2 separate regions of the Homo sapiens genome follow, and region 2 is linked to region 1. The links are contacts of gene promoters, found by promoter capture Hi-C in human tissues and cell types (Jung and others, 2019). All regions are on one chromosome and are shown on one strand. The core of a region is centred on a gene start or on the middle of the fragment in contact, and the rest is flanking DNA. Distances in the headings are between cores, read along the strand shown. Region 1 holds the start of ASH2L (ASH2 like, histone lysine methyltransferase complex subunit). Region 2 has its middle 80 kb from the start of TACC1.

The links. The method cuts DNA at HindIII sites, captures the fragments that hold promoters and counts their contacts. A contact is called where the count stands out against the background at its distance.
Region 2: a contact is called between a fragment that was not itself captured here and the fragment with the promoter of ASH2L in region 1, in 1 of the 25 tissues and cell types used here (H1 embryonic stem cells).

What each region holds. Positions count from the first base shown.
Region 1 is chr8:38,104,135-38,106,976 of GRCh38, forward strand. ASH2L (ASH2 like, histone lysine methyltransferase complex subunit) reads left to right here and starts at 1,395. Exons shown (of 16, transcript NM_004674.5): 1 at 1,395-1,604; 2 at 2,244-2,310. The coding sequence starts at 1,417. RefSeq lists silencers at 1,163-1,252, 1,583-1,782 and an enhancer at 1,363-1,492. The HindIII fragment of the contact is 26,659 bases long and covers 1-2,842 here.
Region 2 is chr8:38,705,598-38,708,439 of GRCh38, forward strand. No RefSeq gene overlaps it. Among named protein-coding and RNA genes, the nearest start is that of TACC1, 80 kb to the right of the region's middle. The HindIII fragment of the contact is 5,844 bases long and covers 1-2,842 here.

The DNA of each region.
Region 1 (2,842 bases), core at 145-2,644:
GGAGATCGACACCAGCCTGGCCAACATGGTGAAACCCCGCCTCTACTAACAAAAATTAGCCGGGCGTGGTGACAGATACCTGTAATCTCAGCTACTCGGGAGGCTGAGGTAGGAGAATCGCTTGAACCTGGGGTGGAGGTTGCAGTGAGCCGTGATCGGGCCACTGCGCTCCAGCCTGGGCGACAGAGCGAGACTCTGTCTCAAACAAACAACAACAAGAAAACACAAAATTCTGCGACCATATGTTAAAACTGCTACAATACTACGTATTTGGGAGGAGATACTTAGATCAAGCATCCTGCTTCTCTTTGGAGTACCAACCCCTGATTTAAGTATTTATCATCAATTTTAAAAATGTAACCTGGCAACTCAGTTAGGTCTTTCTTCAATTTTGTTGAAAACCAATAATTGAGAACCAATTGGGAAATCAATATCTACGTATTTCCCATGGCGTCCAGTGGCCCAGAGATTCCTACACTATCGGTGGACACATCACAGTAAGATTAGACTGAGGATTGGCGAGGGGTGCGCCGTTCTTGTGTAAAGCGGGAGAAGAGTGTATTATCGTTAGGCAACATTTTAGGATATAGGATAAACACTGGTGTCCTGAAAACGTTCCTGGCCGCAACACTCTCAGAGGTTTGCATTCTCGAGTTTGGAGACCATGGCTCTGAAAGACTCAACTCACTCCACTGATGCCAGCCACCAGCTACTGTTGATGACTTCCCAAGTTCGTACTTTCAGTCCACACCTCTTCCTTTCGCTGGGCACCAAACTTGTCTACATTCCGAGTGCCCCGGCACACCCCGGGGCTTCGCTTTCCGCCTCTCACAGTAGGAAGCGGCGAGCCGCTTCTAGTGCCCACGCCGCTCCTCGGCTGCCCGGCCTGGGTTTTCCACCCTCGCCCCTGGAATCGGCCTCCCTAGATTCCCTTCCCTCTTAAAATCATTTGGAAACGGGCTCCAAGGGGCGACCCTGCGCAGAAAACCAAATTCCATCCGGGGCGGGCAGGGAGTGCTAGACTCCAAGGAAGACGTTTCCCACATTCGGTGGTGAGGAGTGTTTGGCGGCACGGCACGGCCAGCGCTCTCAAGGACCCTCTTCTGCGCAGAATATCCAGTCGTAGCCACGAAAATACGCCGCGTCAGTCCCTGACTCGAAAGGAAGTCCTCCAGAGAGCCGCACTAACCATCTAGCTTCCTCCACCTTCAGCCTGCCAGGCCCGCGGCCACCGCCGGCGCGGGAGGCCGGCCCACCTCTGCCCGCGCGCCTGGCCTTAAAGCGGTCGTGGAATTATGCTTCCTCAGGCAGGCGGTGGACGCACCGCGGGCTTTTTCTGTTTGAAGACTACAGCGTCACACAGCAACGCGCGCGAGAGAAGAGAGTATTCTCGCGAGAAGTCCAGGGGTGGCCGTGATGGCGGCGGCAGGAGCAGGACCTGGCCAGGAAGCGGGTGCCGGGCCTGGCCCAGGAGCGGTCGCAAATGCAACAGGGGCAGAAGAGGGGGAGATGAAGCCGGTGGCAGCGGGAGCAGCCGCTCCTCCTGGAGAGGGGATCTCTGCTGCTCCGACAGTTGAGCCCAGTTCCGGGGAGGCTGAAGGCGGGTAAGAGGTCCTGCCGCCCGAGGAAGACGCGGGAGGGAGGCCCGCCCCTCGCGAATCCCGCGGCTCCTGGAGCCCTGCCGCCCGCCCCCTGCGAACCCAGGCCCCGCCGCCAATGGCTCGCCCTGCCTCTGCGCCGCTTGGCCCGTCCCCTCTCAAGCATATCTCGGATAACGCCCCTTCCGCACCTTTCACGGGCGGTGGGAGCTGAGGCTCCTGTCGTTATCTCTGATCCTTGCACCCTGGCAGGAAGCTGGTAGCTCACACTTTAACGGGAGGCCTTCACATATTCCAGAAAAGAAACCACTTTGCAGTGCCAGACTGGAAGAAGTAACGGTCACTCTGAAAACAGGGTGGGAGAGCTGCCTCTCTTTGAACCTCTCCCAGGACCAACTCTAACCCAGGTAGATTTGACTGTAAAGGCCGGTTAGGCTTCCCTGTGCTCCGTGGGTCCGCGACTGTCTGACATGTCCACCTTCTCAGTATCCTGACAGTACCTTGGGCATCCAGTCTGAGATCAGGCTTAGCTGAAAAAGCTGCAGGAGTATGAAGTTCGGCTGTAATTTGATCATCATTTTTGGGAATAGGCATTTTGAGGTTTGTCTTGAGAATTCTTACTTGAGCGCTTTCATTATCTTATAGGGAGGCAAACTTGGTCGATGTAAGCGGTGGCTTGGAGACAGAATCATCTAATGGAAAAGATACACTAGTAAGTATTTTTAGTTGTTTGCAAGACAAAATAGGGTTTGTTTTAGTTATTTCTTCTTCTTCTTTTTTTTTTTTTTTTGTTGCGACGGAGCCTTGCTCTGTCGCCCAGGCTGGAATGCAGTGGCGCGATCTCGGCTCACTGCAACCTCCTCCCCCCGGGTTCCAGCGATTCTCCTGCCTCAGCCTCCCGAGTATCTGGGATTACAGGCATCTGCCAACACACCTGGCTTCTTTTTTTTGTCTTTTTAGTAGAGACGGGGTTTCACCATGTTGGCCAGGCTGGTCTCGAACTCCTAACCTCAGTTGATTCTCCCGCCTCAGCCTCCCAGAGTGTTGGGATTACAGGCGTGAGCCACCGCGCCCGGCCTTGTTTTTACATTTTTAAGCGAATCAAAAATACATTCAGGCCAGGCACGGTGGCTCATGCCTGTAATCCCAGCACTTTGGGAGGCTGAGACCTCAGGATCACTTGAGACCAGCCTGGGCAACATAGGGAGACCCCCGTCTCTTAAAAAAATAAAATAAAGTAAAAT
Region 2 (2,842 bases), core at 221-2,720, 600 kb after region 1:
TGACAATAGCTAATGCTTAGTGAGCACTTCCTATGTTCCAGGCTCTCTGTGAAGAGCTGGTCCTATGAAGCCACGTAATCTCCTCTGAGATTGAAAAAATATTTAGGATTGAAAAATAAGCTGAGGAAACTGTGGTAGGGGATGTGGAAAAGCCGACTGAAGCTGCTGGCTTGGAATAGGAACAAGACACACACTCACAAAATACAATGCTCCACTCTCCTCTTTTTTAGCTAATTTCCAGACTTCCCGCTTCCTTTGGCTGCCAAAATCCTCCACATTGTGGCTGACACTCAATGCCTCCATCTACTATTCCCTAAACCGCGGACTTCCACCCCCACAATTCTATTGCAACTGCATTTGCTGGAGGTTGCCAGGACTTTCTTCTGGCCAAACACAATGGTTTTCCCCCCTAGTCCTCAGCCTTGCTGACCTCAGGGCAGTACTTGACATTGTTTATGACCCAGCCTTCCCAAGGCACTTTCCCACCTTTTTCTCCCCTGTTTACCTATTTGCTGTGTCTTCCAAATGTGCCTCTGAGCATGGCTCTTCTGCAGGGCTCTGATCACCCTGGGGCTCTCTCTCCCCTAGACAGCTCCTCTCATGGTTTTAACTAGAAGATCTCTGCTATGACTCCCAAATTTACCTCTTTATATGGTTTGGCTCTGTGTCCCTACCCAAATCTCATCTTGAATTGTAATTCCCATAATCCCCATGTGTCAAGAGCAGGACCTGGTGGGAAGTGATTGGATCATGGGGGCAGCTTTCCCCATTCTGTTCTCATGATAGTGAGTGAGTTCTCATGAGATTTGATGGTTTTACAAGTGTTTGACAATTCCTCCTATGCACACATTTGCTCTCTGTCACCTGCCGCCATGTAAGACATGCCTGCTTCACCTTCCACTATGATTGTAAATTTCCTGAGGCCTCCCCAGCCATGCTGCACTGTGAGTCAAATAAACCTCTTTCCTTTATAAATTATCCAGTCTTGGGAAGTTCTTTATAGCAGTGTGAAAATGGACTCATACACTTCTCCAGCCCAGACTCTGCCCCTGTGCCCCTAGGTGCGCCCTGGTTCCCCTTGGCCCTCAAAAGTTTTGCTGAAAAATCAACTTGCAGAAGGCAGATTAATTGGAGAAAAGGCATACACATTTATTTAATATATGATTAATATATTAAATATTGTCCAATAATATGATTGGACAAAAAGGGAACCATCTAATGCTGATAGACAGAGTGGGAACACCAAGCAAGGACTGTCTGTCTAGAGTCTTCTTTGCCTCTCTGAGCAGCACTCCTTCCTTCTGGGTTTGGGGCAGGACCCTTTCTGGAAAGGGGGTCTTATGACCTACAGTCCAATCAGGGAGGTCGGAAAATTTCCTTATGGCAAATTTTTAAACAGAAGGCAAGGGGAAAGTTAGAGAGTAATATTTTTAGTTTTTATGGCTTGCTTTGGGGGGAAGGGGTTCTGGTTTCTAAGACCTGCCTTGGGTTGTTCTTAGATTCTAGTGTCTCTGGCTAGTCTCGGGAGGATGGGACTGAGAGACAGGAGGACAAGAGAAGATCAGAGAAAAACTTTTGTTTCTGAGGCCTTCATTTTGAAGTATCGTTTTCTGAGCCCCAATAACCCAAATCCTTCATGTCCCTGAATAAATTTATCTTCTTCCCTCAAATTAGTTCTTCTTCCAAATATGCCTATGTCCCATTGTCTCTAAGGAAAGCCCAAGCCCAATACCTTGAGGCACGTTCTACTCCCCCACCTCTTCCAATCTACACATCCAGACTCCAAAACTGCCCCACTTCATGCTGTCTCCATCTCTCTCAAAGATGCTACCTCTCCATACCTCAATATTTTCCTAAAGTACTTCATTTGAAAGCAGTTTTTGCTAATCAACACTTTTAGAATAGACTTTCCACTTAGAGAAATCTATCCTAGGGAAATCATCAGAGATTCATGAAAACAAAGACTAATGTGTCTGAATCTCAAATAGGAACAACTTAAATGAAGAGGACTGAGGGCCTTAGTTAATACATTATGGTGTGTCCACTGCAAGGGAATGGTGCAGGCTTTCACAATTGGGCTTCAAAAGGATATTTGATGGTATGAGAAAATGTTTATCCTATATTGCTAAGCGAAAAAAAAAAAGACAAGGGAGAGAGGAATGAATAGGCAGAACACAGAGGATTTTTAGGGCAGCAGAAATATTCTGTATGATAATGCAATGAGGGATATATTATGTCATCCTACATTTGACCAAACCCTGGCAGGTCTTAGAAACCAGAACCCCTTTCCCTCAAACCAGCCATAAAACCTAAAATACTACTCTCTAACTTTCCCTCCGCCTTCTGTGTAAAAATTGGCCATAAAGGAATAATCTGGCCAGGAGCGGTGGCTCATGCCCATAATCCCAGCACTTTGGGAGGCCAAGGTGGGCAGATCACTTGAGCTCAGAAGTTCAAGACTAGCCTGGCCAACATGGTGAAACCCTGTCTCTACTAAAAATATAAAAATTAGCTGGGCATGGTGGCAGGTGCCTGTAATCCCAGCTACTTGGGAGGCTGAGGCAGGAGGATCGCTTGAACCGAGGAGGTAGAGGTTGCAGTGAGCCAAGACCACGCCATTGCACTCCAGCCTAAGCAACAAGAGCAAAACTCCATCTCAAAAAAAAAAAAAAAAAGAAAGAAAGAAAGAATCTGACCTACCTGGTTTGGCTGTAGGTCATCAGACTCCCATTCCAGCAGTGTCTTGCCCCATACCCAGAAGGAAGGCGCTCTGCACAGAGAGGCCAAGAAGAATCTAGGCAGACAGGCCTTGCTGAGTTTTTCTGCTGAGTCTGTTAGCATT